6 separate regions of the Homo sapiens genome follow, and regions 1, 2, 3, 5 and 6 are each linked to region 4. The links are contacts of gene promoters, found by promoter capture Hi-C in blood cells and fetal thymus (Javierre and others, 2016). All regions are on one chromosome and are shown on one strand. The core of a region is centred on a gene start or on the middle of the fragment in contact, and the rest is flanking DNA. Distances in the headings are between cores, read along the strand shown. Region 1 holds the start of MIR4519 (microRNA 4519). Region 2 holds the start of LOC112694756 (uncharaterized LOC112694756). Region 3 holds the start of TAOK2 (TAO kinase 2). Region 4 holds the start of NFATC2IP (nuclear factor of activated T cells 2 interacting protein). Region 5 holds the start of PPP4C (protein phosphatase 4 catalytic subunit). Region 6 holds the start of INO80E (INO80 complex subunit E).

Evidence for each region. Contacts are between HindIII fragments. The CHiCAGO score rates a contact against its expected background, and 5 or more counts as called.
Region 1: a fragment that was not itself captured here is called in contact with the fragment with the promoter of NFATC2IP in region 4 in 1 of 17 cell types (total B cells); the score reaches 5.2 in total B cells.
Region 2: a contact is called between a fragment that was not itself captured here and the fragment with the promoter of NFATC2IP in region 4, in 1 of 17 cell types (fetal thymus). The highest score is 5.7, in fetal thymus.
Region 3: a fragment that was not itself captured here is called in contact with the fragment with the promoter of NFATC2IP in region 4 in 1 of 17 cell types (fetal thymus); the score reaches 5.4 in fetal thymus.
Region 5: a contact is called between a fragment that was not itself captured here and the fragment with the promoter of NFATC2IP in region 4, in 1 of 17 cell types (total B cells). The highest score is 7.5, in total B cells.
Region 6: a contact is called between a fragment that was not itself captured here and the fragment with the promoter of NFATC2IP in region 4, in 2 of 17 cell types (fetal thymus and total B cells). The highest score is 9.8, in fetal thymus.

Annotation. Positions count from the first base shown.
Region 1 is chr16:30,873,372-30,878,257 of GRCh38, reverse strand. It overlaps MIR4519 (microRNA 4519), which reads left to right and starts at 2,935; the gene lies at 2,935-2,992. It overlaps MIR762HG (MIR762 host gene), which reads right to left and starts at 2,798. Exons shown (of 3, transcript NR_110942.1): 1 at 2,772-2,798; 2 at 2,140-2,228. It also overlaps a transcript of BCL7C not described here. RefSeq lists a silencer at 2,026-2,085 and enhancers at 2,406-2,455, 2,486-2,695, 2,005-2,759, 2,966-3,225, 2,760-3,514 and 1 more. The HindIII fragment of the contact is 2,091 bases long and covers 1,448-3,538 here.
Region 2 is chr16:30,049,963-30,054,440 of GRCh38, reverse strand. LOC112694756 (uncharaterized LOC112694756) reads right to left here and starts at 1,290. Exons shown (of 14, transcript NM_001365304.2): 1 at 1,224-1,290; 2 at 942-977. The coding sequence starts at 947. It also overlaps a transcript of TLCD3B not described here. RefSeq lists an enhancer at 1-887. The HindIII fragment of the contact is 1,085 bases long and covers 1,418-2,502 here.
Region 3 is chr16:29,971,105-29,975,467 of GRCh38, reverse strand. TMEM219 (transmembrane protein 219) reads right to left here. Exons shown (of 6, transcript NM_001083613.2): 5 at 3,890-4,060; 6 at 2,420-2,518. The coding sequence ends at 3,923. It overlaps TAOK2 (TAO kinase 2), which reads right to left and starts at 1,600. Exons shown (of 16, transcript NM_016151.4): 1 at 820-1,600. LOC124903762 reads right to left here and starts at 1,846. Exons shown (of 2, transcript XM_047435036.1): 1 at 1,688-1,846; 2 at 833-1,471. The coding sequence starts at 1,846. The coding sequence ends at 833. RefSeq lists enhancers at 510-639, 346-1,117 and a silencer at 1,541-1,910. The HindIII fragment of the contact is 537 bases long and covers 1,897-2,433 here.
Region 4 is chr16:28,948,041-28,953,041 of GRCh38, reverse strand. NFATC2IP (nuclear factor of activated T cells 2 interacting protein) reads right to left here and starts at 2,105. Exons shown (of 8, transcript NM_032815.4): 1 at 1,644-2,105; 2 at 838-910. The coding sequence starts at 2,030. NFATC2IP-AS1 (NFATC2IP antisense RNA 1) reads left to right here. Exons shown (of 2, transcript NR_186408.1): 2 at 1-140. RefSeq lists silencers at 1,650-1,769, 1,910-2,009 and enhancers at 1,729-2,229, 2,249-2,783. The HindIII fragment of the contact is 4,735 bases long and covers 1-4,165 here.
Region 5 is chr16:30,075,290-30,080,233 of GRCh38, reverse strand. PPP4C (protein phosphatase 4 catalytic subunit) reads right to left here and starts at 4,240. Exons shown (of 9, transcript NM_002720.3): 1 at 4,140-4,240; 2 at 3,759-3,919. The coding sequence starts at 3,856. RefSeq lists an enhancer at 3,627-3,716 and a silencer at 3,827-3,966. The HindIII fragment of the contact is 182 bases long and covers 3,477-3,658 here.
Region 6 is chr16:29,993,653-29,998,511 of GRCh38, reverse strand. INO80E (INO80 complex subunit E) reads right to left here and starts at 2,271. Exons shown (of 7, transcript NM_173618.3): 1 at 2,121-2,271; 2 at 1,895-1,965; 3 at 1,652-1,704. The coding sequence starts at 2,201. HIRIP3 (HIRA interacting protein 3) reads left to right here and starts at 2,895. Exons shown (of 7, transcript NM_003609.5): 1 at 2,895-2,971; 2 at 3,049-3,169; 3 at 3,295-3,409; 4 at 3,669-4,606; 5 at 4,704-4,859. The coding sequence starts at 2,907. RefSeq lists enhancers at 2,188-2,317, 2,378-2,547, 4,404-4,859. The HindIII fragment of the contact is 354 bases long and covers 1,246-1,599 here.

The DNA.
Region 1 (4,886 bases), core at 1,244-3,743, 1.9 Mb before region 4:
CACCCGGCCCCACCCCAGACATTTTACATTGGTATCATGTGCAACCTGGGCCCTGGGATTTTTTGTTTTGTTTTGTTTTTTTGAGTCTTGAGTTTAGCTCTATCGCCCAGGCTGCAGTGCAGTGGCATGATCTTGGGTCACTGCAACCTCCGCCTCCCAGGTTCAAGCCATTCTCGTGCCTCAGCCTCCCAAGTAGCTGGGATTACAGGTGCCTGCCACCACACCCGGCTAATTTTTGTATTTTTAGTAGAGATGGGGTTTCACCATGTTGTCCAGGCTGGTCTCGAACTCCTGACCTCAGGTGATCCACCCGCCTTGGCCTCCCAAAGTGCTGAGATTACAGGCATCAGCCACTGCGCCCGGCCAAGGGCCCTGGGATTTTTACAAGCTCCTCAGGTGATGCTAACATGCTGCAAAGCTTGGAGCTGTGAGCCTGTGAATGTGATTTGTTTGGCTTACATGGTGTTGAACATGTTGGCAACATTAAAATCAAGTGATTTCATATAAAAATCTGGACTAGGCTGGGCGCGGTGGCTCACGCCTGTAATCCCAGCACTTTGGGAGGCCGAGGCGGGTGGATCACGAGGTCAGGAGATCGAGACCATCCTGGCTAACACGGTGAAACCCCATCTCTACTAAAAATACAACAAATTAGCTGGGCGCGGTGGCGGGTGCCTGTAGTCCCAGCTACTCGGGAGGCTGAGGCAGGAGAATGGCCTGAACCCAGGAGGCGGAGCTTGCAGTGAGCCGAGATAGTGCCACTGCACTCGGGCCTGGTGAAAGAGCGAGACTCCGTCTCAAAAAAAAAAAAAAAATCTGGACTCAGGCCGGGTGACGTGCCTCACACTGTAACCCCAGCACTTTGGGAGGCTGAGGCAGGAGGACTGCTTGAGCCTAGGAGTTGAGGCTACAGTGAGCTATGTGTTGCTACCCTTCAACCTGCGCGACAGAGCAAGATCCTGTCTCTACCAAAAATAAAAAAAGAAATCTGGACTCCAGCTACCCTTGAAAGCAGATATTCTGAGATACTGAGTTTGCCTCCTGGAGTGGTCATGGGGCGGAGGTTGGTGGGGTAGGGGGGTAGGGGGTGCAGAACACTGACTGCCCTGGGGGCGGAGTCTCTGCCCTTCAGTCCCCGCAATCCCTACCGCTCCCTGGTGTTCCACTCTCCTCCTTGCTGTTCACTTGCATGGCCTCCAGGCTAATGGCTGAGTTTTGCGGCCAGGCATTTCAGGCCTCCCAGCCTTGGCCTCTGCTCACCTTCTCCACCTCCTCACTCCCTGCTCTAGTCATCTTCATCTCATGTCCTGCCCTCCAGCCACATGGGCTTCTTGGTCCCTTCCACACCTGTTTTTGCCCATGGAGTTCTCCCACCAAGTTCCTTATGGTAGAAAAGCCCCTGCTGGATTTGGCCCCTGCCCACCTCTCCTGCCCCTTTCCCCAAGCTTTCTTCCAACTCATGCATAGAACTTCTACCACAAGGAAGCTGGCCAGGCTGTTAGCACTCCCGTTCCCTCTGTCTGTGAAGCCCTTTCCTTCCCTCCACCCTCCCCTTCTCTCTCTTATCTCAGGCTTTGGGTTTGATTTCACCTCCTCCAAGGTTCCCTGACCTTCAAACTAGGTCAGGTCCCTGGTTAGTCACTATACTTCCTCTTTCTCACCTCCTTCATCTCACTTCCCCTGCTAGAATAAGGCCACATCTGTCTCATAATCTCTGTCTTCCTAGGGCCTAGTGTGGTGCCTGGCATACAGTAGGTGCTCATTAATGATAAATGAATGAAAGCAAGCACATCTCCCTTTCTCTACTGGCAAAATCCTAATCCTTTTCTGGTTACATTTCTCCTGTAGCATCCAATTCTGTTCTCGAGACCCAAAAGATCCCTGAGGTCCTGTGATCAATGGAGTTTTAGCTCAGGTCCATTTCACAGTGGGCCCAGGGGATCCCCAGATTCATCCGTGGTTATTTCCCCAGGCACAGAGTGAGTGCACTGGTGGCACAGGCATACCCAGCAAGTGGCATAATCCCCCCCATTAGTTAACTGGGTGTCGCTGTGCATGGCTGTGAAGGCAGGGATGCACCTGGCTGGTGACCCCAGAACCCCTCCGGGTACGGCACAAGGGCAGAGCCCAAGAACTTACTTTCTGTCCTCTTGCATTTGCCTGTGGATTTGCAGTTGGTAATGGCGTTCTTGCCCGGCCCTCCTTTGTTCCTCCAGGCAGCCAGGCAGCTGTGGCGTAGTGAAAGGGCAGGATGCGGGATAGGAATGGAGTTATTCCTGATTCAGACTGATTTGCTCTAACTGTGATTTGGGGCAAGTCCCTTCCCCTGTCTAGACCTTAGCTGGCTGCCGCATCTAAAAAATGGAGCCAATAATCTTTTCCTCGTCTTTGGGGTCATCCATCTTTCAACCACATCAGGAGCAGCGGGAACCAAGTGCAGAGGATGGCCTTAAAAGCAGTATGGGAACCAAATTTTTGTAAAGTAAATATTTTCAACCTTTATATTTTGGAATCACCAGCGGTATTTATTACGTGCACTCTAGGAAATGGAGGCAATGCAATGCCAAAAACAGAAAGTAAAACTGCTGTCCTGTGCCGCGGCCCGGTGGAGGTTTTAATGTCTGTATCTTAAGATCTGGTGAGGGCACGGGTAGGTGCGGCTGGACTGAGTGAAACCAGCCCCGCTGGGCGCCTGGGCCCTTGTCTCAGGGCTGTGCTCGCAGTGGAGGCATCTGCAGCTCGGCACCCAGAGGCCCCGCGACCCTTCCAACCTTTGTGACGCTCCGCGGAGACAAAGGCCGGCGGCGCAGCCTTGGGAAGGGTTAAGGCCACAGACGCAGCCCTGCGCGTGCTAGAGCGGCCGGTGGCGGACTTCCGGTTGGGGCGCGGGCGCGCGCCGCGTGTTCCCGACCCGCCGAGGCTGAGACCTCGGGCAACCTCAGCAGTGCGCAGGGCTGCACTGTCTCCGTCTGCGGCCTGCAGTAAGCGGGTAGGGGATATGTCGCGTGGCCTCGCCTGGTCTGCGGCGGGAAACTCGCATCTAGGCCAGACCCTCCCGCAGGGTCCGCACTCGCGATCTGGGCTGTGGGCAGCATCGTGGCCCCTCGGGGCGTTATAGGGGCGTGAGGATCCCGGGCGAGCTGGGGGCGGGCGGCTTCTTCAGCTCCCTTGCGCCATGGAACCCACTGTATGCCCGTTATGCAGTCAGGAAAGATGAGGCCGGGAAGGAGGGCGTTACGCTGCAACCCCGGAGACCAGCTGTCCCTCGCGTTGCCGCAGTCGGCAGAGGCGTGGCCGGAGCCATTCCCGGTCTCCAGTGCGGCTGCAAGAGCGGGCGCCCGAGGGCGTTCTGCTCCGGGCCTCCACCCGCGAGCTGACCGTGTCAGGCGCGCCACACACGGCGCTTCTCATTCTCTCTCCACCTCGCGAGGCAGAAGCTGCCGTTCCCGTGTCACAGACAGAAAAACAGTCTGGGGTGATTTATCCGGAGTCAAGACTCAGGTCTGTGGCTCAGTCGGGAAGGATAGAAACCCAAGCTTCCTCCGAATGGTTCAGAGACCCGACCAAGTTAAATAATAATGGCCCTGGCTCAGGGGTCTTTAAGTCTTCCCCCCGCCCTCCCCTTTTGTTTTTGTTTTGTTTTGAGACCGCCTCACTGTCCCCCAGGCTGGAGTGCAGCGGTGCGATCTCCGCTCACTGCAGCTTCGACCTCCCGAGGGCTCAGGTGATCCTCCCACCTCAACCTCAGGAGTGTCTGGGACTACAAACACGCGCCACCACGCCCGGCTAATTTTTCTGTTTTTTGTAGAGTCAGGATCTCGCTATGTTGTCCAGGCTGGTCTGGAACTCCTGGGCTCAAGCGATCCTCCTGCCTCGGCCTCTGAAAGTGCTGGGATTACAGGCATGAGCCACCGCACCTGGCTACCCTTTAATTAACTCAAGGAGTTTAATAATTGAATTTAGGCTGGGCTCAGTGGCTCACGCCTGTAATCCTAGCACTTTAAGAGGCCACGTCGGGCAGATCACTTGAGGTCAGGAGTTCAAGACCAGTCTGGCCAACATGGTGAAACCCTGTCTCTACTAAAAATACAAAAATTAGACGGATGTGGTGCCACACACCTGTAATCCCAGCTACTCGGGAGGCTGAGGCAGGAGAATCCCTTGAACCCGGGAGGCAGAGGTTGCAGTGAGCCAAGATCGCACCACTGCACTCTAGCCTGGGCCACAGAGCAAGAATCTGTCTCAAAAAAAAAAAAAAAGGTTTGACACCTATACCTTCCTCTGTGTGTGTGTGTGTGTGTGTATACATATATCTATATATATATGTATATAGAGAGAGGAGGAAAAATTATATAATTTTTCTATATGTGTGTGTGTGTATATATATCTGTACAATTTTTTTTTTTTTTGAGACAGTGTAGCTCTGTGGCCCAGGATGGAGTGCAGGGACTCGATCTCGGCTCACTGCAACCTCCGCCTCCCAGGTTCAAGCGATTCTCCTGCCTCAGCCTCCCGAGTAGCTGGGATTACAGGCTGCTGCTACCATGCCTGGGTAATTTTTGTATTTTTAGTAGAGACAGGGTTTTGCTATGTTGCCCAGGCTGGTCTGGAACTCCTGAGCTCAAAAGTGATCTGCCTGCCCCAGCCTCCCCAAATGCTGGGATTACAGGTCTGAGCCATCACACCCGGCCCATATATACGTATTTTAAAATAACACCTTTACTGAGAGAGATGACTCACACACCATACAACTCACCCATTTAAAGTGTACAGTTCAATGATTCTTAGTATCTTCACAGTTTTGCAAATATCACCACAGTCAATTTTAGAACATTTTCATTACCCCTAAAAGAAACCATACCCATTAACAGTAACTCCCAAGCCTT
Region 2 (4,478 bases), core at 711-3,210, 1.1 Mb before region 4:
ATTTTGCCCCTTTCCACACCAGATGTCCTTGTGTAGTATCCCTCCCTCCCTTACAATCCGTCAATGGCTCCCAGTAACTCACTTAAAACTTTTTCTATTATTTATTTTATTATTATTATTCTTATTGAGACGGAGTATCACTGTCACCCAGGCTGGAGCAGTGGGGCAAGCTTGGTTCATGCAACCTCTGCCACCCGGGTTCAAGCGATTCTCCTACTTCAGCCTCCCTAGTAGCTGGGATTACAGGTGCGCGCCACGACGCCCAGCTAATGTTTGTATTTTTAGTACAGAGGGGGTTTTGCCATGTTGGCCAGGCTGGTCTTGAACTCCTGATCTCAGGTGATCCGCCCGCCTCGGCCTCCCAAAGTGCTGGGATTCCAGGCATGAGCCACCGCACCTGGTCAATTTTTTTAGAGACAGTGTCTCACTCTGTCACCCAGGCTGGAGTGCAGCGGCATGATCATGGCTCGCTGCAGCCTCGAGCTCCTGGGCTTAAACGATCCTCCCACCTCAGTCTCCTCAGTAGCTGGAATTACAGGCGACAGCCACCACGCCTGGCACTTAAAATTTATGTCAGTGACAAAATTCCCAATTTAGCCCTGCCTACCTCTCTCCCTCCCCCTCTTCCAAACACACGATAGCCCTAGCAGTTCCCCAAATGCTGCAGCCTCCCTCTCACCCCCAGACTGTTTCCTCTGCCGGAAATGCCTTTTCTCGTGGATTACTTAGTCAACTCCTTATCTTGCCAGGAATACCAGAAATGTGCCCTCCCGTGGGAAGTCCATTCCTGGACTCTTCCTGACAGCTCTCGTCCTGAGCTGGCAGGTTGTAGTCTCTGTTGGGTAGAAGCCCCCTCCCCAGTCCGTGCTGGAAGACAGGCCCATTCGGGGTTAGGAGAGGGCGCTGAGGGGGCCCAGAGAGGGGAAGGGGCCCGGACTTACGTCCATGGGGAAGGGCAGAGCCAGTCAGTCCGGGAGCTGCAGAAGGAAGGTTCTGGGTCTCAGAGGCTGAGAGGCACCGTTAGACCGGGGTGCCCACCCTCCTTCCCTTTCCTGTTTGGGGAAACTGAGGCCATGGCTGGGCCGGAGGGTGGAATTCGGGAAGGGGAATGGGGGGCGGGGGATCCGAGGCGGCGCCTTCCTCGCAGGCTCCAGCGCGCCCCAGGCCACTCCCCTCCTCAGTCCCCACACTCCGGGCTTCCCCAGTCGGTCAGCACCCATCACCTGCACCCTCGGGCCGCGGGCAATTCACGGATTCCGCGCCAAGCTAGGTCCAATCGTCCGAGGGACCGGCCCCGCCCAGAAGCCGTTCGCGGCATCCCGCTGTTGCCATGGTGACCAGAGCGGTGTTTGTACGGCGGCTGCCGAGGCCCAAACTCCCTCTTCCCGCCTCGCGCCTCCCTCTTCCCGCCTAAGCTTCAACTGTCACCGGCTCTGCGCCGCCGCGGCCCTCGGGGCTTTCTCGCGGGGAGCGAAGGGGAAGAGCGAATCCCGCCGCCGCCCGCCTGGGTCGGATCCTCATCAGATGCCGGACGTTGGAGGAGGCACCGGGTTCTGGGGCGCCACAGGAGGATTGAACCCCCAGGCTACACCCACCACTTGGATGTATCTCCGGCCAAGCCACTGAGCATCTGCAAAAGGGAGAAACGCCTGCCGCTCAGGGATATTGTAAACATCAATGCTACTTTTTATATTTTATTTATATTTATTTATTTATTTATTTATTTATTTATTTATTTATTTTTGAGACGGAGTCTCGCTCTGTCGCCCAGGCTGCAGTGCAGTGGCGCGATCTCGGCTCACTGCAACCTCCGCCTCCCGTGTTCAAGTGATTCACCTGCCTCAGCCTCCCGAGTAGCTGGGATTACAGGCGCGCACTACCACACCCGGCTAATTTTTGTATTTTTAGTAGAGACAGGGTTTCGCAATGTTGACCAGGCTGGTCTCGAACTCCTGACCTCAAGTGATGCGCCCGCCTCAGCTTCCCAAAGTGCTGGGATTATAGGCGTGAGCCACCGCGCCGGGCCCGGTTCTTTTTTACTGATTTATTTATTAATTGATTTATTTATTTTTTGGAGACAGATTTTCGCTCATCTCCCAGGCTGGAGTGCAATGGTGTGATCTTGGCTCACTACAACCTATGTCTCCTGGGTTCAAGCGATTCTCCCGCCTCAGCCTCCCGAGTAGCTGAGATTACAGGCGACTGCCACCACGCACACCTAATTTTTGTATTTTTAGTAGAGACGGGGTTTCACCATGTTGGCCAGGCTGGTCTCGAACTCCTAACCTCAGGCAATCCCGCCCGCCTTGGCCTCCCAAAGTGCTAGGATTACTGGCATGAGCCACTGTGCCCAGCCTTTTTTTCTGAATTTTTAGAGATGTGGTCTTGCTATGTTGTTAAGGCTGGTCTTGAACTCCTGGGCTCAAGCAGTCCTCCAGCCTCAGCCTCCCAGGTAGCTGGGATTACAGGCATAAGCCACCTTCAGTAGGATCTGCTGAAGCTTCCTGAACCAGTGTGTAGGGTCTCACATTTCCACAGCTTTGCAGTTGCTGATCCCTCTGCCTGGAACACCCTCTGTCTTCCCCTCAAACCTCTTCCTCATCCCTCAAGCACGTCCTCAGTTTTGCCTCTGTGAGGTCTCCCTGCCAACCTCAGGCAGAGGTGGCTGCTTTGGACTGTGAATTCCCACAGCATCCTACAGATACTGTTGTTCTCGCACTTCTCACAAGATACTTGAATTCCTCACTTCCATGTCTGGCTCCACAATTAGACTGCAAGTGTCTGGGGCCTGGTCTGAGTCATCTCCGTATCCTGAGCTCTAGTACTTGGCCTAGCCCTGGGAGCCTTGGTGAATACTCACTGATTCTTTTTCTTTCTTTCTTTCTTTTTTCTTTTCTTTTCTTTTTTTTTTTTTTTTTTGAAACGGAGTTTTGCTCTTGTCGCCCAGGCTGGAGTGCAATGGTGTGATCTCAGCTCACTGCAACCTCCGCCCTGGATTCAAGCAATTCTCCTGCCTCAGCTTCCAGAGTAGCTGGAAGTGCCACCATGCCCAGCTAATTTTGTATTTTTAGTAGAGACGGGGTTTGTCCATGTTGGTCAGGCTGGTCTCGAACTCCCGACCTTAGGTGTTCTGCCCGCCTTGGCCTCCCAAAGTGCTGGGATTACAGGTGTGAGCCACTGCGCCTGGCCTGTTTTTTTCTTTTAATAAAGTAGACATGGGGTCTCACTATGTTGGCCAGGCTAGTCTCCAACTCCTGCCTCAAATGATCCTCCCACCTCGGCCTCCCAGGTTGCTGGTATTACAGGCCAGAGCCACTGCACTCAGCCAATACTCACTGATTCTATGAATGAATTGAAACCAAACACCATCCACGAATGAAGCATTGTTTTCCACACGTCCTAATTTCCTTGGCTTTCAAGGCACTCAGACCTCCCCGTTTCATTCCTAACCTTTTTAGATCACACACACACAGACACTTGCACACACCCACACATGCACGCTCACACAAGCACCCCTCTCTATGGAGGCCTCCGACTTCCTAAACGATGGCTGAATCCTGGCATTTTCCCCTAAAAACAATGCCACCATATACCTATTTTTGTCCATGTTCTCCACCCCAACATACCTCACCACAGCTGCTGCTCCTGGGGTTTCCTACACCATGAGGCAGCCACGGAAACTGCCAGGGGCTGTGTCCCTGGATCCAAATCTTCCCTCCCACTGTCAACCATACTGAGGTGGTCTCAGCCACCCTCTTGGCCACCCCTGGCCCTCTCAGAGGGCGTTTCAAGCCCAGAAAACAGAAGTCTAGCTGTTGCTAATGTCACCATTATTGATCCTAAAGAAGATTGTCTTCTTAGGCTGTCTTCCGGTTTTTGTTTTTGTTTTTGTTTTTTTTGAGACAGAGTCTCACTCGGTAGCCCAGGCTGGAGTGCAATGGCACAATCATGGCTCACCACAACAGCCTCGACCTCCTGGCTCAAGGGATCCTTCCACCTCAGTCTCCCAAGTAGCTGAGACTACAGGTGCATGCTACGACACCCAGCTAATTTTTAAAATTTTTTGTATAGACGGGGTCTCACTGTATTGCTCAGGCTGTTTTTGAACTCCTGGGCTCAGGCGATCCTCCTGCCTCAGCCTCTCGAATTGCTGGGATTACAAGCGTGAACCACTGTGCCCGGCCTTGGGCGGTCTTATTGTCTGATGGAATCCTGAGGACCAAGTTGAGGCCAGTTCTCACCTCAGCCCTACAAAAGGCCTCCAGGAACACATATTCTGCATATTCTGCCAACAGAGAGACTTCAGCCTTGGCAAGGCCCCTGGACACGTCCGTGGCCTGCAGTGCCCAGACTCGCTGGTGCTGGTGTTTTGTTCCTACCATGGGCTCATACATTATGCAGGAGCACGGGCAGTGCCCCAGGCTTGTGTGTTGCCAGGCAAGCCAAGACAAGGGATGATGTATGCACCCCACTTTGCC
Region 3 (4,363 bases), core at 916-3,415, 1.0 Mb before region 4:
AGCCCAAACTCAGAGGAAAAGAGATGGCAAGAACCAGGCATGCATCAGGGAAAGATGTGATTGAGGACTTGAGTTCAAATTCTGGTTCTGCCACTGTGTGACCTTGGGCAACCTCTCTCGGCCTCAACGTTCTCAACTGTAAAATGGGAAGATGCCAATAAAAGAGGCCCCCACAGGGTGAATGCGGGGATGTCACATGAGAGAATGGCTGTCAAAGCACTTTGTAAAAGACAGATCGTTTGACAAATGGATGAGATTATTGACACCATCACAGCAAGAGGTTGGAAGGTAACTGCAGCTGGGGGAAAACATTGCCAGGCACCTCCAAGCACACACACACACGCATACACACAAACACATATACACACACTTCCTTGCAAGGACAAGAAATCCAACCAGACCAGGCCTGAAAAGCAGATAAGCAGACCCACCATGGGAATCAGAGGCATGGGAATCAAAACCACAGAATAGCCAGGAGAACGGGACATATCAGGGAGGAGAGGTGGCTGTGAGGGGCAAAGTGAAGGAGAGAAGACTGAAGTGCAAATCCATCTGATTAGCTGAAGCACCCTAGGGTGTGAACGCCGGTGACATCAGAGACCCTGTCACCTGAGGTCCCCCACCAACCAGACACAATGAAGGGAAGAGGAAGGGGAAGGGGGTGGCAACAGAAGGCAAGGCTAGCCAGAGGCTGACCACTCGCTCAGCTGGGCTTCCCCATCCTGAGAGGGCCTACCCAAGTCCAGCTTCTCAGAAAGGCGCACCCTTTCTTCTCAGAACTAGACACAGGGACCCGCGCCCCTGCACCCCGTGTCTCACCTGGTAGGGGTCACTATGGTGCCCCAGCGCCTCCGCTTCCGCCTGGGGTCCTCCAGCGGCTCTGCCAAGCAGGGAGAGGGGCAAGGAGACCTTTCCCCTTGCCACCTCTTCCTCGGCTTTCGCCCTTCCTGAGGGGCGGGCCCGGGAAGCCTCCCCTGGAGGGGAGGGGGTGACAACCTAATCTGACCTCGCGGTCCAGTCCTCCCCCTCGTCGAGGGCGACAGCTGCCGAATTCCGGATTTCTGATTGTGGGGTCTGAACCCCGAATATCTGAACGGGATGGAGACTGAATCCGATATTTGAACGCCCGGGGAATGAACCCCGGATACTGGTGCACGCAGGGGCCTGAACCTGATATTTGAAATTCTATGAAACAGAGACCCAGGTTTAGAGAGGTTGGGACCCGAGTCCCGGATATCTGGACTATGAGGACTGTTACCCGGGTATCTGAGAAAGGAGGAGGGGCAAAGCCTGGAAATTTGGGACCCAGGGGCCTGAGCTGTAGGTCTTCGGCCACCGACTGGGGGCCCACCCCGAGGACGTCCGGCCGCACGGCCCCTCTCACGCCGGGGTCCGAGGGTGACAGCCCCCACTCCCGCCCCGGCCTCCTCCCTCTCCCTTCTCTCTTCCGAGAATAGCTGAACGATTGTAGCTAAGGTGCTGCTGACGGTCCCCGCGCCCTCTCTGCCTCTCCTCTTCTCCGTCTCAGCCTCTCTCCGCACCACAGCCCCGGTCTCGTCCCGGTCTCCCTCTCCCTCTTCCTCCCAATTCCAAGATGGAGACCGGGCGGGAGCGCGCAGGCGCGGTAGGGACGCCGGGCTAAAGGGGGCGGGGGCGCAGAGGACTCAGCCCCGCCCTCTCTCCTCACTGCCGCGGCCTGGGAGACCGGCAGCCGCCAAGCCCGAGTGCGCGCCCGCCCCGCCACGCGGACCCCAGGCCGGAGGAGGCGGGGAGAAGAGCTAGACTTGCAAGGGGAGGAGCCCGGCACTCTGTCCCACGACTGGCGGTGGACAGAGCTGCAGCGCATGCGCTCGCCCCGCCTTCGCTCTGAGCCCGAGCTTGTTGCTAGGGGAAGCTTTGAGGGGGCGCGGGTGGACGGACAGCAGCGGCGATCTGCGACTGCGCGCAGGGTGGAAGTTGGGAGGGGCAAAGGAAGCTGCTGCTGGGCGCGGAAAAGGCGGGAAAATAGACTGCTCCGAGGTTAGCAACCATCTAACCTGGAAAAGGGCCTCCAAGTGCGAGGAATCTTTGCGCGTCGACGCTGGGAAAACTCAATCGGTCAAATCTCTTACGGAAATTGAGGCGCTGCAGGTTGCAAGACTTGCCAAGGTCACAGTGCATTTATGTCACAGCATTTCCATGACCTGACACCCCACCCGCCCAACTAACTGTAATTATCCATTTTATTTCGTAGAAGAAAACAAGACAGGTGTTTACCAAAGCCAAGTCAACCATGGGGAGAGCTCAAGTAACCTATGCCCTATGCCAACCTGTGTCCAAACTAGAGAGTCAACAGGAAAGAGTCCCCCAAAACTTCTAAGCCTGCCTACCCTAAAATCCCCACCTCAATCCAACCCCCAATAAACACCATACACGCCACTGGGCAAAAAAGCTTTTTATTTTCCCCCACATTCCAGCTCTTCACTTTTTCTAAAACCTTTTCCAACTCAGAGCCAAGGCCCAAGAAGTTGATTCACACCTGGGGAGAAAGAAAATAAAACAACAAAACAGGTCGAAGAGCTGCTAGAGGAAGCTCTGAGATGTGTGCAGAAATTGAGGAAGGAGCAGAGGGAGTGACAGCTAGAGACCAATACGGGCATTTAATCCCAACTAAGGTAGCCTCAGGACCCCAGGGTCTGTCAGGGGCCAGGAAGCCCTCCTTTCCCAGTCCAAGGTTGAGAGGGTCCTGTCATTTCCTGTCCCAAGTAGGTGGTTGGGGCATTTAGGCCCAGCCATCAGCAAAATAAGCACAGTTGATCTTGAGCTTCCACTTCCTCTGGCCTGATCAGTTCCCTGGGCCTCAACTATTTCCACTTTTCCCATAGTAACTTCCTAGGGCACTGCAGCCAGCTGAAGCTGAGACCAGTTCAAGAGCTGGATGCATAACACATGGCTCTCAAATTTCATGCACCCCCCTCTGACAAGTGAAGATTTTTTGCAGAAATATTTTTTCCTTTAGTGAGCTGATGTGTGAACTGGTTAACCAACATGACCCCCACCCACTGCTACGTTTGTGAAGCTGATTCCCTCCAAAGATCTTGTTAACGGAATCAGCTTTTTCTAAAGGTAACGATGACTAAATGGAAGACAGAAGGTGCATGTCAAGTTCTTGGGCACATACTATGTCCCCAGTAAATGAGTATCATCAGTTAGACTCTTCTGAGCGGTTCAAGTTGAATTTTACAAAATTTCCATCATAAAACTGGGTATTGGAATTTCAGGACAAAAGCAAGACAAACATGGTTCATATTCAGGACAAATCATCAAATGTGAACCCTCTTAACTCACCATTGTTACCCAAATGCTTGGATGTGAACTAGTTATGAGTCTTAAAATCACAATGTTGCTTGAAAGAAGTCAGCCACAAAAGAATGTGTATGATTCTGTCTACATAGTTTCAAAAATAAGTAAAACCAAACTATATTATTTAGGAATACATACATGGCAATACATTATAAAGCAGGACAGTAATTTCTAGGGAGAGAGAGGGCATTGTCAGGAAGGAAGGGACCATGGGGGGTTTCTGGACAGCTGGTAATATTCTACTCAGTGGTATTTATAAGTATCCACTTTATAATAATTTGCCAAGCTGTCCTTTTATACTATTGGACTTTTCTACATAAGTGTTAACTATTTTATAATAAAAAAGTTAAAGTAATTAGAAAAATATTGAATGCTGACGGTGTCAAATTGTTCCCAGTCCCTAAGGGAGAGCTGTGGTTGAAGAGGTTCTCGGGGACTCAGAAGCAGCAGTCTTTGAGGAAAAGTCCAAGGATCTGCTCTACCCCGGTTACAACCCCCACCCCCACCCCATTCCCTGCTCCCGCAGGACTGGAGCAAAGAACCTCACCTGAGAAACAAGTCGGGAACTAGGCCAGTGCCCTCAGAGCCGGGTTCTAGACCAGTGGGACTCCCGGCGCGGGTGGAAGCACATAGCAGTGACACAGCAGAGAAGGCCACAGAAGAGAAGCAGGAAGGAGCCCAAGACCAGCAGCCTGGAGCCACACAGAGCCAGCTCCTCCTAGGGAGGGGTACAGGGAGAGGAGGAGGAGGACATGTTAATCCAGTCCAAGGGCTATAGAAGGAGCCTCCATGAGGGAGAGGGCTCTCCACATCTAGGGAGCAACTGAAGGGAAAATGTTATTTTCATATAAGCTGACATTTGTCTTTTTTTTTTTTTTTTGAGATGGAGTCTTGCTCTGTCGCCCAGGCTAGAGTGCAGTGGCGCGATCTCAGCTCACTGCAAGCTCCGCCTCCTGGGTTCACGCCATTCTCCTGCCTCAGCCTCCCAAGTAGCTGGGACTACAGGTGCCCGCCACCACGC
Region 4 (5,001 bases), core at 856-3,355:
AGCTGAGGCCGGGCACAGTGGCTCACGCCTGTAATCCCAGCAATTTGGGAAGCTAAGATGGGCGGATCACCTGAGGTCAGGAGTTCAAGACCAGCCAGGCCAACATGGTGAAACCCCATCTCTATTAAAAATACAAAAAATTAGCCAGGCGTGGTGGGAATTAGTCAGCTACTGGGAAGGCTGAGGCAGGAGAATCGCTTGAACCCAGGAGGTGGAGGTTGCAGCGAGCCGAGATCGTGCCATTGCACTCCAGCTTGGGCAACAAAAGCGAAACTCTGTCTAAAAAAAAAAAAAAAAAAGAGAGAACTGAGATTCAAACCCAGGCCAGATGGCTCCTGTTTGCTTTTAATCACCCCACTGTACTCCCTCATGGTACAAGAGTCTTGGTCCAAGGTCTCCATTTGCCCACTGGATTATTTCCTTATTAGACTAGATTCCTATTCCCCGCCCTTGAGTTGTTTGCAAAAAATGCATCAGTGGGGGAGGACAAAGACAGGGCATCCCTGATAAGATTCAGAGAACACCCTGCTGGCTCCAGTGTTCCCAAAGAACTTGCTGCAGATGTAACAAGATGTCACAGATTCTCAACACCTTACCGCCTCCTGCCCCGCCCAGGACTACAGAATCAGCATCTCTTCAGGTGGCACCAGAAATGTATACATTAATACATTCTATGCTTGTTAACAATCCAGCTCCTGTGGCTGGGATGCAGGAGTCCCCTCTCCCACGCTCTTCCCTTGAGCCTCAGGAGACAACTGACTGCAGGAATATAAACCCCAGGAATTCTCTTAAGAGAAGCCAGCGGCTGCGTGCCTCTCCCTGGAGGCCCTCCCTTACCTTCCTCATCCCCTGGAGGGTAGAGTTTCAGGAGGGATAGATCATCTGGGATAAGGCGAAGGCTGCTTTTAACCTGCAAAGACAAAGAAGGGAGAGGGGTCAGGCCCAAGTCCTTCCCCTACCGAAAGAAAAAATTGGGGGTAATTCTTCCCTGACACCCAGCTCCCAAATCCTCCCTAAGATCGTGGACACCTTGGCCCTCTCCTGGCAACCTAGAAGTCCAGCTTCCCCAGGATTCAGAATGGAAGTACCCTTCACCCTTTCCTCCATCTGCCTAAGACACTCTGAAATGTATGCTTCCTTGCCCTTTTTAACTAGGTTACTAGCCGCCCCTCTACCCCTGACTCTTAGGGACTCTCAGCCCATTGCTCACACGACCATCGGGGGACCCCAGCCTCTGGAGCCGCCCAGTCCTCTCTGAACCCGCATGGACCCCAACCCCCAATACTGCAGCTCCCTGGCTTCATTTGCCATGGACCCCAACCTCAAAATCCAACGGCCCCAGGTCCTCCCAGTCCCTCTCCAAAATCTCAGGAATCCCAGCTCTTCAGCCTCCCTGTGCCCCCAAGACTCTAGCTCCTAGGAATCCTAAACTTCCAACGCATCCCACCCTCCTTCACCACCCCAGTCTGCAGAAAGTCCCGGAGCCCTGCCTCTCCCTGCCTCCAACACCCTAACGCCCGAGGACCAGCCCCAGAACGCCAGCCTCAACACCCCTATAGCCCTACCCTCCCCGAACGCCGGCCCCTCCCTGGAGGCCAAGCCCTTGGCCCTTCCGCCGGTCCCCTCCCCGGGACCGGGCGCACCTTCCCCGAGTACACCGGAACCAGCGGCGCCTCCCCCGGATCCAGCACCAGCCGCCGCCGCCGCCTGACCGGCTCCCGCGGGGGTCCTGCGGGCCGCCTGTCCTCCCCTTCGCTGTCACTGTTGCTGTTATCCCGGGACGCGACCGGCCCCGGGGGCTCCGGGGGCTCCACCTCAACCTCGTCCGCGGCACCGCGAGCGGTGGCGACCTCCAGAATTTCCTCATCGCTGTCGGTGACCAAGTCCACAGACACTACGTCCAGCGTGCCCCGGGATGGAGACCGCTGGGCCCGAGGACGCCGGCCCCGACCGCCCCAGCCGCCCCGACCCCCTCGGCCGGCACCGCTACCTCCGGACCAGCGGCCCCGCTTCCCCACAGGCTCCGCCATGGCACACTTTCCTCCACAACACACGCCCGCCTCCTCTCGCCTCGCCCCGCCCCCTTCAGCGACTTTCGCCTTGCATTGGACAAACAGCCTGCTCGTCAGCAACTCTTCGCGCCCCACGCGCGGGATCCGCCTTCCCGCCTTTTCATTGGTCTCTGTACCCGCTCATCATGCGCCCACCTCTGAAACCAAGGCGCCAAAGATTCCAATCACCTCGGCACAATCACCGTAGCTTTCGATTCAGTCGGCCTCACCCATTGGCTGGGCCACCTCTCCACAGACGAGCCTCTCCCGGACCCGCCCAACCAAGACAACCGTCTTCCGGCTTGGTTAGTCGCAGGGCATCCTGGGAAATGTAGTCCTCGAGCGGTAAGGTTTCCGGGAGAAGGAAGGCGGGCCTGGAATTCCCTGTGGAAACCGCGGATTTAACCAGGCGCGGTGCCTCACGCCCGTAATCCTGGCACTTTGAAAGGCTGAGGCGGGCAGATTGGTTGAGCTCAGGAGTTTGAGACCAGCCTGGCCAATGTGGCGAAACCGCGTCTCTACTAAGAATGCAAAAATTACCCGGGCGTGGTGGCACCCCTCTGTGGTCCCAACTACTCAGGAGGCTGAGGTGGGAGTTTCGCTGGAGCCCGGGAGGCGGAGATCGCACCACTGCACCCCAGCCTGGGTGACAGGGCGAGACCCTGTCTCAAAAATGCTTTAAAGAAATAATAAGGCTGGCCGCGCGCGGTGGCTCACGCCTGTAATCCCAGCACTTTGGGAGGCCGAGGCAGGCGAATCACGAGGTCAGAAGTTCAAGACCAGCCTGGCCAACACGGTGAAACCCCGTCTCTACTAAAAATACAAAAATTAGGCGGGCGTGGTGGCGTGCGCCTGTAATCCCAGCTACTCAGGAGGCTGAGGCAGGAGAATTGCTTGAGCCCGGGAGGCAGAGGTTACAGTGAGCCAGATCCTGCCGCTGCACTCCAGCCTGGCCGACAGAGCGAGACTCTCTCTCAAAAAAAGAAAGAAAGATAGAAATAATAAGGCTGGGCGTGGTGGCTCACGCCTATAATCCAGCACTTTGGGAGGCCGAGGTGGGCAGATCACCTGAGGTCAGGAGTTCGAGACCAGCCTGACCAACATGGTAAAACCCTGTCTCTACTAAAATACAAAAATTAGACAGGCGTAGTGGCAGGCGCCTATAATCTCAGCTACTCGGGAGGCTGAGGCAGGAGAATCGCTGGAACCCAGGAGGCAGAGGTTGCACTGAGCCAAGATTGTACCACTGCACTCCAGCCTGGGCAACAGAGTGAGACTCCATCTCAAAAAAAAATCTTATGTATTTATTTATTTTTAAATTTTATTTTATTCATTTATTTAATTTTATTTATTTATTTATTTTGAGATGGAGTTTCGCTCTTATTGCCCAGGCTGGAGTGCAATGGCTCGATCTCGGTTCACTGCAACCTCTGCCTCCCAGATTCAAGCAATTCTCGTGCCTCAGTCTCCAAGTAGCTGGGATTGATTACAGGCGTGCACTACCATGCCCAGCTAATTTTGTATTTTTAGTGGAGATGGGGTCTCACCATGTTGGTCAGGCTGGTCTTGAACTCCTGACCTCAGGTGATCCACCCCCCTCCGCCCCCGCCTTGGCCTCCCAAAGTGCTGGGATTACAGGCGTGAGCCACTGCGCCCGACTATTTATTTTATTTTTTTCTTTTTCTTGATTCGGAGTTTTGCTCTGTTGCCCAGGCTGGAGTGCAATGGTGCGATCTCAGCTCATTGCAACCTCCACCTTCAGGGTTCAAAGGATTCTCTTGCCTCAGCTTCCCGAGTAGCTGGGATTACTGTTGCCTGCCACCTTGCCCAGCTAATTTTTGTATTTTTAGTAGAGACGGGGTTTCACCATGTTGCCCAGGCCGGTCTTGAACTCCTGACCTCAAGTGATCCACCTGGCTCGGCCTCCCAAAGTGCGGGGATTACAGGTGTGAGCCACAGCACCCAGCCTGGCATATGTAAATCTTCATGATGGCTACATAAGCCACTTGCCAGTCTCCAAATTCAGGAATTCAAGGACCTGGGAGCCCTGACGAAATGCCGTCGTCAAGGCAGTTAGCTCTCTTGTCTCCCATTTCCCCTAGGAGGGAAAAGCTTGGCTTCAGTCTTGCTCCAAGATGCAGGCTACCTCCTGTCCTAAAGATATGAAAAGTTTGTGTCTACTCACCCCTACCATACAAGCCAATTCAATAACACAGGTGGTCACCCCACTTACCATCATAAAGTTAGACTGGGGCCAGGCGTGGTGGCTCACGCCTGTAATCCCAGCACTTTGGGAGGCCGAGGCGGGTGGATCACTTGAGGTCAGGAGTTCGAGACCAGCCTGGCCAACATGGTGAAACCCCATCTCTACTAAAATACAAAACAAAATTAGCTGGGCATGGTGGTGTGCGCCTGTATTCCTAGCTACTTGGGAGGCTGAGGCAGGAGGATCAGTTGAACCCAGGAGGTGGAGGTTGCAGTGACCCGAGATCGAGCCATTGCCCTCCAGCCTGGGAGACAGAGCCAGACTCTGTTGCAAAAGAAAAAAAAAAAAGCCAGGCGCGATGGCCCATACCTGTAATCCCAGCACTTTGGGAGGCCAAGGCGGGCGGATGACAAGGTCCAGAGATTGAGACCATCCTGGCTAACACAGTGAAACCCTGTCTCTACTAAAAAATACAAAAAATTAGCTGGGCGTGGTGGCGGGCGCCTGTAGTCCCAGCTACTCGGGAGGCTGAGGCAGGAGCATGGCATGAACCCAGGAGGCGCAGGTTGCAGTGAGCCGAGATTGCACCACTGCACTCCAGCCTGGGCGACAGAGCGAGACTCCGTCTCAAAAAAAAAAAAAAAAAAAAAAGGCTGAACTATGTTTGACTAAAGGTGTTGTCACGTCCTCTTACGTGAGGACTAGTCATTGTTTATCTTGAAAACATGGTATTGCAACCACCCC
Region 5 (4,944 bases), core at 2,318-4,817, 1.1 Mb before region 4:
AGCTGGGATTAGAAGCATGTACCACCACGCCCAGCTAATTTTTGTATTTTTAGTAGAGTCGAGATTTCACTATGTTGCCCAGGCTGGTCTCGAACTCCTGACCTCAAGTGATCTACCCACCTTTGCCTCCCAAAGTGCTGGGATTACAGATGTGAGCCACTGCACCCAGCCTATAGATACCCAATTTAAGCAACACTGTATTTCCAAATTTTGCCTGGTAATAGCAGCAGTGAACATTCGAGCTCATACTGTGTGCCACAAATGTTATTAAGAGCTTGGCAGGCAGGTACTATGATGATTCCCGGTACACAGATGAAGAAATTGAAGCAGGGAAGGAGGCTGGCTTGGTGCCAGTGACACAGGTGGGATATGAACCAGGGAAGCCTGGCTCTGGGGTCTGACTCTTTATCAAGATATTCTGATGTGGGAGGCCCAACTCGCCTGGCCCCCCTCTTTCTGCCAATCTCTTCCCTTAGAATGAGTTTCCTGAGCTCAGTGGACAGGAGGATTCACTTATGCCCCTTGCTCTGTATGGCAGAGGCAGCACGAAGGAGGTCTGCCCTGGCTTTCTGGGAACAGAAGGCAGCACTGGCGGTGGTCCAAGAGGCCACATCAGTACCCGGACTCTCCCACCTGCACTGCTTCTTGTGCTGAACATCCTTCCCCATCAACTGCTCATAGTGACCTTTCCAACAGACTGGGGAGGTTCTCTTCAGCCTCACGTAACAGTAAAGAAACCGAAGCTAGGCCGGGCGCGGTGGCTCATGCCTGTAATCCCAGCACTTTGGGAAGCCAAGGCAGGCAGATCATGAGGTCAAGAGATTGAGACCATCCTGGCCAACATGGTGAAACCCCGTCTCTAGTAAATATACAAAAATTAGCTGGGCATGGTGGCGCGTGCCTGTAATCCCAGCTACTTGGGAGGCTGAGGTAGGAGAATCACTTGAACCTAGGAGGTGGAGGTTGCAGTGAGCCAAGATCAGGCCACTGGCACTCCAGCCTGGGCAACAACAGCAAAACTCTGTCTCAAAAAAAAAAAAAAAGAAAAAAAGAAACCAAAGCTTACAGAAAAGCGGGAGGGTCAAGGTCACCAAGCTGGAGAGTGGCTAAATTGGAACCCAGAAGCCCAATTTCCTGAGAATTTATGCCAGCCCCTTCCACAGACCCTGAGTGAAAACCTGAAGCCCAGGGAGGTCACATGCAGGGCCCGTGCTCTCTGCAAAGCCCCCCTCAGTGCCAGCGCAACCCCAGTGTGGCCTGGGAATCAGGCCCAGATTCCAGCCCCAGTTCTGCCACTTGCAGCACTTCCCCAGCCCTATCAGGACCTGCCTGCAGTAACGGCTACCAGCGCAGCAGGCCCTGTGCCCGGATACCCGGACTCTCAACTGCATGTCATTATCACTTCAAAAAATCAGAAAGTGACTTGACGAGGGTCATATTGCTTCTAGGTGACAAGGCAAAGATTCATACTGAAGACCACCTGATTCAAAAGCTCAGCTCTCCTACTGTGCTAATATTTCTAGTAGCAGCAATTTCAGCTCAGACACTGCGGACCTCTGTGCTTCCACTGGTTTCATCTGCATGTCTGTGCCCTCTAGGCAAGCTGGTGCTCTTGACACCACCAGCCTCAGCCTGGGTCTCTGATGGGTCCCCAGGAGGCCATAACCAGGTATCAGAGATGGCCCTGCTTCAGACTGAGCCTGGGACAACAGCGGCCAACTCAGGCCTTGGCCTAGTACCTCCTAGTTCCACTCAGTTTCAACTGGGCAGGACCCTCCACCCCTCAGCCTTCCATGGCTTCCTGCTGCCTCACACCCCACATCAAAATCTAAATGCCTCTGCCTGGCTCTCAGTGACCACGGAGCACAGTCAAAGACCTGGATGCAAAACTAACTTCCCCTCCGACTAGCTGCGTGATGTTGGGCAAGACATTATCTACTCAAAGGCTCAGTTTCCTCTGCTATGAAATGGGGCTAAGTACTCAGCCCACCCTGCGTATTCCTTAGGCTGTTGCAAGGAGCCATGGAGACTGAATATACGACTTCCTGCTATTCTGCAAACTCCAGCATGCTATCTAAGCTTTGTCTACCATCACCACCACACTGATCCAGGGCCCGTGAGGGAGACAATACTTCGAGGTTAAAGAATAGTGCCAGGCAACAACAGGTTTAAGTTCCTAAAAATGCCAATCAGGACTGAGGGAAAGGGGACAACTAAAAACACCATGGGGCTGGTCTGGTCAGCTGGCAAAAGAGAAAAGCCACAGACAGGTGGCGAAAAAGAGGCCGACCCTGCTCATCATCCCCTCACAGGCCCTGTCTGGCTGCAGGTAGTCTATGTGAGGCAGGGCCAGGCAAAGAGCCTGAGGGCCACAGATTCAGGACCCAGCTCTGCCACGTCCTCAGTGGGTGACCTCAGTTAAGTCACCAGACCTCTACGAGTCATGGCTTCCTATTCGATAAAATGCAGCAAATGATTCCAACCTCATAGGATTGCTGGGGGGAAGAGATGGATAGAAGTTTTTTGCCAGTACCGGGCCAGGCCAAATAGTGGCCCTGTAAAGGCCAATGTTTACTGTTCAATAAACGTAGGGTAATTCTGTGGGCTCTTCTGCCACAATTCTCCAGCCTGGTAGAAGCCACAATCACACAGTTCCCCAGAGGAGGCAGGTAATTAAACCCCTGACTGTTCCCCACGCATCTCAGGGCCTCCACTGTTACATTCGTCCTGCTTGGAATGCCCTTCCCTCACTGGCCCTGCCTCCATCAGCTAGCCAAATTATCTTCATCCTTCAAGGCCTACCTCCACTCAAAAGCCCTCCCTGATGGCTTTAGCCCATCTCATTATTGCCCTCTTCCAAAAGAAATAGAATACCTGGTGATTATCAAGCACGTATGCTGTACCAAAACACTGTGCTAACCTCATCTCCAGCACCAACTCACTGAATCTTCACAATCATCTTATTAAGTACTATTAATTCTGCTTTACAAATAAAGACACTTAAGATTACTAACACAGCTAGAAAGCGGCAGAGTTCAGATTCAAACCTAGAGCCATCTCACACTGCAAAACCTAGAGCCTTAACCACTACATCATCCTACTTCCCACAGAACTCTGAACTGGCCTCCCTATCGTGCTTAATTCTACCCTGGCTTACTTGCTACGATTTCTCAGGCTCCCACCCTGAACGTGAATGATCCAACTCCACCTTTTTGCATTATGGCCTGAAAAAGGACAGGACACTAAGAGCTGGCTTCAGACCCCATTCCTTACTTGTGGGTAACTTTGAACATGAAAGTTCCCACCTGTAAAATGAGTACAATACCACCAATCTTTAAGGGTTGTTGTAATTAGAAGACTTTTATAAATCACAGGGTCTTTAACTTTCCTGTCTTAAACTTTTGGTTTTTGGCTGACTCTTTTACCACCTCCTTATTCGAGGCCTCTCCCACAGTTCGGCCCCCCTCCAACAAGCTTCCGTCCCCCGACAGATGGACTTGTTTCCTTGAGTTTCCTAAGTACTTTATGTAACACTCTTACTCCACTGGAAACACATCGTCTAATAAACTTTAAGTGTCTTTATCCACTCTGTCTTCCCCGAGCAGGCTAGCTTTTCCTCGAGGGCAGCGGCTCCATCCTGCTCCTCTCTGGGAAAGCTTCCAGAACGAGGCAAGCCCAAAGTTCTCAGTTGGGTTTGCCCCAGGCCAGAACCCGTGGGCGGCGGCTTGGCCTCCCTTCCCCAGGGCCAACGAGCTCACCTGGCCTTAGCGCACAGGGCCTTGACTTCGCTCTCCTTGATGAGCTCGCAGCGACGCAGCTGCTCGATCTGCCGGTCCAGGTCGCTGATCTCCGCCATGGCCCACCCCCGGCGCGGGTCAGAGTCGGGGCCGCCGCCCCCTCCGCACCGCACAGGGGTCTCCTGGGAAAGGCCAAGACGAGCCCGCGGATCAGTGTCCGTCCGGGGCTCGGAGCGGACAACTCGATTCTAGAGCCGGCCCGGCTCCCCCACCCCCGCCTCCCCTCACATCGGCCCCAGGACCCCCCGGCGTCCAACGGCCTGGCCGCACCCCCGCTAACTCCCGTCGAACCCCGCGGTCCCGCGCTAAGGACGGTGACTTAGAGGAGTCTCGCACTATTACCGCCGCTGCGACTCCGGTTCCGGCTCTCCGGCTCCCTGCCTCCCTCTTTCACTCCGCTTTCGACCGCCGCCGCCGCCGCCGCCGCCGCTCCTACTTCCGGCCCCGCCGCGGAAGCAAAGGAGGCCAGTTCCGCCGCGCGCCGGATGTGGCGTCATACACGCTCCTCTCCTTTCGCAGCGACCCCTGCACCACTTCTCCAGCCTGAGATCGGGAAGGAGGTGGAGGAACCCGGTGGCGGCCAGTGGCAGTTTTGTGGGCTCTGCCGCTGGGCGATGTGGAGGCTATTAGAAACCCTAGACCAGTCCCCTCCCATATCATTTCATAAAAATGTTTAAACAACTGTCTTTTCTTTTTTTGAGACGGAGTTTTGCTGTTGCCCAGGCCGGGGTGCAATGGCACGAACTCGGCTCACCGCAACTTCCGCCTCCCGGGTTCCAGCAATTCTCCTGCCTCAGCCTCCTGAGTAGCTGGGATTACAGGCATGCGCTACCACGCTGGGCTAATTTTGTATTTTTAATAGAGACGGGGTTTCTCCATGTTGGTCAGGCTGGTCTCTAACTCCCTACCTCAGGTGATCCGCGCCCCCACCCACCACCACCCTTCGGCCTCCCAAAGTGCTGGGATTACAGGCGTGAGCCACCGCGCCCGGCCACAACTTTCTTTTTTCTAAATTAGAGACAGGGTCTCGCTCTATCGCTCAGGCTGGAGTCGGTGGGGCTATCATAGGTCACTGTGACCTCGAACTCCTGGGCACAAGCTATCTTCCCGCCTCGGGCCTCCCAAAGTGCTGGGATTACAGGCGTGA
Region 6 (4,859 bases), core at 173-2,672, 1.0 Mb before region 4:
TTTGTTTAACATGTGGGGCCCTGGTTATGATGTAAAATATAGTTAACTGCAGACAATATTCAAATAAAAGGACGAAAACAGTGTTCTCTCTCTTTCATGCCTCTGCTCTTCAACCAAGCCTGACCTGTTCTTACCTCAGGGTAGCTGCATTTATATTATTCTGCCGGGACAGCTCTAGCCCACTTCTTCACAAGATTGGTTTTTGTTTTTTTTTTTTTTTTGAGATGGAGTCTGGCTCTGTTGCCCAGGCTGGACTGCAGTAGTGCAATCTCAGCTCACTGCAAGCTCCACCTCCCAGGTTCACGCCATTCTTCTGCCTCAGCCTCCCGAGTAACTGGGACTACAGGTGCCCACCAACATCCCCGGCTAACTTTTTGTATTTTTAGTAGAGACAGGGTTTCACTGTGTTAGCCAGGATGGGGTTTCTTTCTTTTGAGACAGTCTTGCTCTGTCACCCAGGCTGGAGCACAGCGGTGCTATCATGGCTCACTGCAGCCTTGACCTTTCAGGCAAGGGATCCTCCTGGTTCTGCCTCCCAAGTAGCTGGGACCACATGTATACACCACTATACATGGCTAATTTTTTTTTAATTGAGATGGGGTCTCACTATGTTGCCCAGGATGGAAGGCTGGTTTCTTCTCTGGTCCCAACTCAAATGTCACTCTGTGAAAGGCCTTTCTTGAGTACTCCATTCAGAGGTTGCCTGCTGCCTGCTTGTGTGGTCTGCAAGCTAAGAAGGGCGTTTTTTTTTTTTTTTGAGACGGAGTCTCGCCCTGTCACCCAGGCTGGAATGCAGTGGCAGCGATCTCGGCTCACTGCAACCTCTGCCTCCAGGGTTCAAATGATTCTCCTGCCTCAGCCTCCCCAGTAGCTGGGATTACAGGTGCACGCCACCACACCCGACTAATTTTTGTATCTTTAGTAGAGACGAGGTTTCACCATGTTGGTCAGGCTGGTCTTGAACTCCCGACCTTGTGATCCGCCCACCTCGGCCTCCCAAAGTGTTGGGATTACAGGCGTGGGCCACTGCACCTGGCCAAGAATGGCTTTTAAGCTTTTAAACGGTTGGAAAAAAAAAAAACTAAAGAAAAATTTTTCATATGGAAAAATATGAAATTCAAATTTCAGTGCCTATAAAGTTTTATAGAAACATAGCCATACTCATGTATTTGCCTATGGGGTACGGCTGCTACTACAATGGCAGAGTTCAGTAGGTGCTTCAAAGATTGTATGTTGCAAAAAGCTTACTTACCATCTGGCCCTTTGCAGAAACAATTCATCAACCCCTGTTCTACTATAATCATTACCGCATAACTGTTTTCATTACCTTCAAGTCCTTCCTATGACCTAAAATTCTAGTCTATTGTCTTCATTTACTTATTCTTCCCAACTAGAATATAAATTACAAGAGGCCAAGGGCTTTGCCTATCTCTGCCTCTGCTGTATCCCCTGTGCCAAGCACAGTGCCTGAAACACAATAGGTGCTCAGTAAGTGCCTGAATGAAAGAACGGTGGAGGTGGAAGGCAAGCAACTAGGCTTAAGGACCACTGGGGGCTGCATCAGCCACCACTGCCTAAAAGGCGGGGGCCCAGGAAGCTTGCTAAGTACCAGGAACCATGCTCTCCACCAATTTTTGAAGACCTTGCTCACCCGAAGAGTCTTCATCCACGTTCTCGTACTGCAGAAGTCGGTCTAGGAGGAAACTGAGGGGAGGGAAGGAGACACGGACAGTGATTTTCCAGCGCAGCAATGTCCTCCTGGGTACCTGTCCCTCCCAGCTGGCCCATCGGATACTTGAAAGAGCCCATGCACTTGTGGCCCTACTCGGGGATGGGGTCCGAATGTAGATTTCCTAGGAAGCACATCGCCCTCCGCCCCTGCAACGTGCCTCACCTCTTGTCCCGGGACACCTTCAGTAATTTCCTTTGCGCTTTCCTCAGCTCCTCCTGGAAGCACTCGTGCTCCTGTATCACGGGCAAGGGGTGCGCTGGGCCAACGGTCCTCCGTGAAGGGCCCCGGAACCAGCGGCCGCTCGCCCCACCCACTTTACACCTGGGTAAACTGAGATCTTGTCCGCGCCAGGCCTCATCCCCCACAGCCTTCCCGCGGCAGCACTCACGTAGATGAGGAACTTGAGCTTCCGCTTCAGATTCCGGTATTTTTTTTTGTAGTCCACTTCGCCGTCCGCCGGCCCGTTCATGACCGGCCCGGGAGTGGCGCCCAGAGTCTGCCCTCCCGCTACCCCAAGCAGTGGCTGCCGTGCCGCTCCCGCCTCCACTTCCGGAGACGCTGCAAGGCTGTGCCGTCAGGACTACAACTCCCGGCGTACCCCGCGCTCAGGGGCGTCACCGCACGGGCCGACCTCCCGGGGGACACTGGGACAGGAGCGCGGCAGCCACTGCGCTGGGGATGGCGTAGCAGCGACGCGGTGACGCCACAAAAATGGCGGACGCTGGAAAGCGCCGTTCCTGACTCTAATGTACTTAGACACTTGAAGCCACAAAAGGATTTATCCCCGAGGTTCCTCATCTGCTCGCGAGGATGCCTTTTCTCTTCTGCCTTGCGAAATAACAGCAGCCTAGCTGTTGCCCGTGACCAGTGAGAAAGGCAGCGTCGCGGGCTGATTAGGTTTCACCCAAAGGGTGCCGGCGCCGAATTGGTTTCTAACGAGAACTTTTAAAATGATCCGTTCCAAAAAAGGGTAGGAGCCGCGAGACCCTCCAACTGCCCAGAGAAAACAAGTCTCGTCTGGCAAAGTTCTCGGCCCACGCGGTCCGCGGCCAAGGGCCAACGGTCCCTCGCCCCACGTTGCCGCAGCACTGCGCGTGCGCGAGCCGCTGTCAAACGCGCTGACGGAGGCCGAGAAGAAAAAAAGGCGGGAGCCGTCAATCCCGGGTTGAGCAAAATGGCGCGGGAGAAGGAGATGCAGGAGTTCACCCGTAGCTTCTTCCGAGGCCGCCCGGACCTCAGGTGCCCAGGGGGTTGGAGATGGGGTTGGAAAGGGCGCGGGTGGGTCGGGACTCCGTCCTGACACCATGTCCCTGCAGCACGCTTACGCATTCCATCGTGCGGCGGAGGTACTTAGCTCACTCGGGCCGCAGCCACCTGGAGCCCGAGGAGAAGCAGGCACTGAAGCGGCTGGTGGAGGAGGAGCTGCTGAAGATGCAGGTGTGCCGGGCCGGAGCCTGGGCCGCGGGAGGCGGAGGCGGGGCTTGCTGCTGAGGAGGAGGGGCCTGACGGGGCGCGGTGAGCGCAGCCTTGGTGCATAGTTTGCCCTCTTGGCGCACACACAGGTGGATGAAGCCGCTTCCAGGGAAGACAAACTGGACCTTACCAAGAAGGGCAAGAGGCCTCCCACCCCTTGTAGCGACCCGGAGAGAAAAAGGTTCCGCTTCAATTCAGAGTCGGGTTAGTGCTTCCTCCCTGCTGTGGGGGCCTTCTGCATCGTTGGTTCACTCAAGAAGCATTCACTGCGCATCTCTTATGTCCCCAGGCGTTAGATGAGGGAGCAAGGCTAGTGAGTCAGGAACCGGGAACAGCAAGTACAGATAGCTGTTTCCTGCTGCCCCTCCAACTGTCAGGGCAGGGCTCGAGGCAACCTATCCGAAGTGAAGGGAGAAGGGACAGGAGGAGCCTGTCTCAACCCTCTCTCCTCTCCATATTCCAGAGTCCGGCTCTGAAGCCTCCAGCCCAGACTACTTTGGACCCCCAGCAAAGAATGGGGTGGCAGCAGAAGTCAGCCCAGCCAAAGAGGAGAATCCAAGGCGAGCCTCAAAGGCAGTTGAGGAGAGCAGTGATGAGGAACGGCAGAGGGACCTGCCCGCACAGAGGGGAGAGGAGAGCAGTGAGGAGGAGGAAAAGGGGTACAAGGGGAAGACTAGGAAGAAACCTGTGGTAAAGAAGCAGGCACCAGGCAAGGCCTCAGTCAGTAGGAAGCAGGCCAGGGAAGAAAGTGAGGAGAGCGAGGCAGAACCCGTTCAGAGGACAGCAAAGAAGGTGGAGGGAAATAAAGGAACTAAAAGCCTGAAGGAAAGTGAACAGGAGAGTGAAGAGGAGATCCTAGCCCAGAAGAAAGAGCAGAGAGAGGAGGAAGTGGAGGAGGAAGAGAAAGAAGAGGATGAGGAAAAGGGGGATTGGAAACCCAGAACCAGGAGCAATGGCCGGAGAAAGTCAGCTAGGGAGGAGAGGAGCTGTAAGCAGAAAAGCCAGGCAAAGAGGCTCTTGGGAGACTCAGACAGCGAGGAAGAGCAGAAAGAGGCAGCCAGCAGTGGGGATGACAGTGGGAGAGATAGAGAACCCCCAGTGCAGAGGAAGAGTGAGGACAGGACCCAGCTTAAGGGTGGGAAGAGGTTGAGTGGAAGCAGCGAGGACGAGGAAGACAGTGGGAAGGGGGAACCCACAGCTAAAGGCTCTAGAAAGATGGCCAGACTGGGCAGCACCAGTGGTGAGGAAAGTGACTTGGAGAGGGAGGTAAGTGACAGCGAGGCAGGGGGAGGCCCCCAGGGGGAGAGGAAGAACCGCTCTTCCAAGAAGAGCTCCAGGAAAGGCAGGACACGAAGCTCCTCTTCCTCCTCAGATGGAAGTCCAGAGGCCAAAGGAGGGAAGGTGAGGGTGAGGAGGGGTGGGAGGCCACTATTAGGGAAGAGGGAGACCCTGCCTCAGGCCCAGCAGGCTTGGCCTTCAGCTGCTCTTTCCTTGCTAGGCTGGCTCAGGTCGCCGTGGAGAGGACCACCCGGCTGTGATGAGGCTGAAGCGCTACATTCGGGCCTGTGGTGCCCATCGAAACTACAAGAAGCTGTTGGGCTCCTGTTGCTCACACAAGGAGCGCCTGAGTATCCTCCGGGCAGAACTGGAAGCG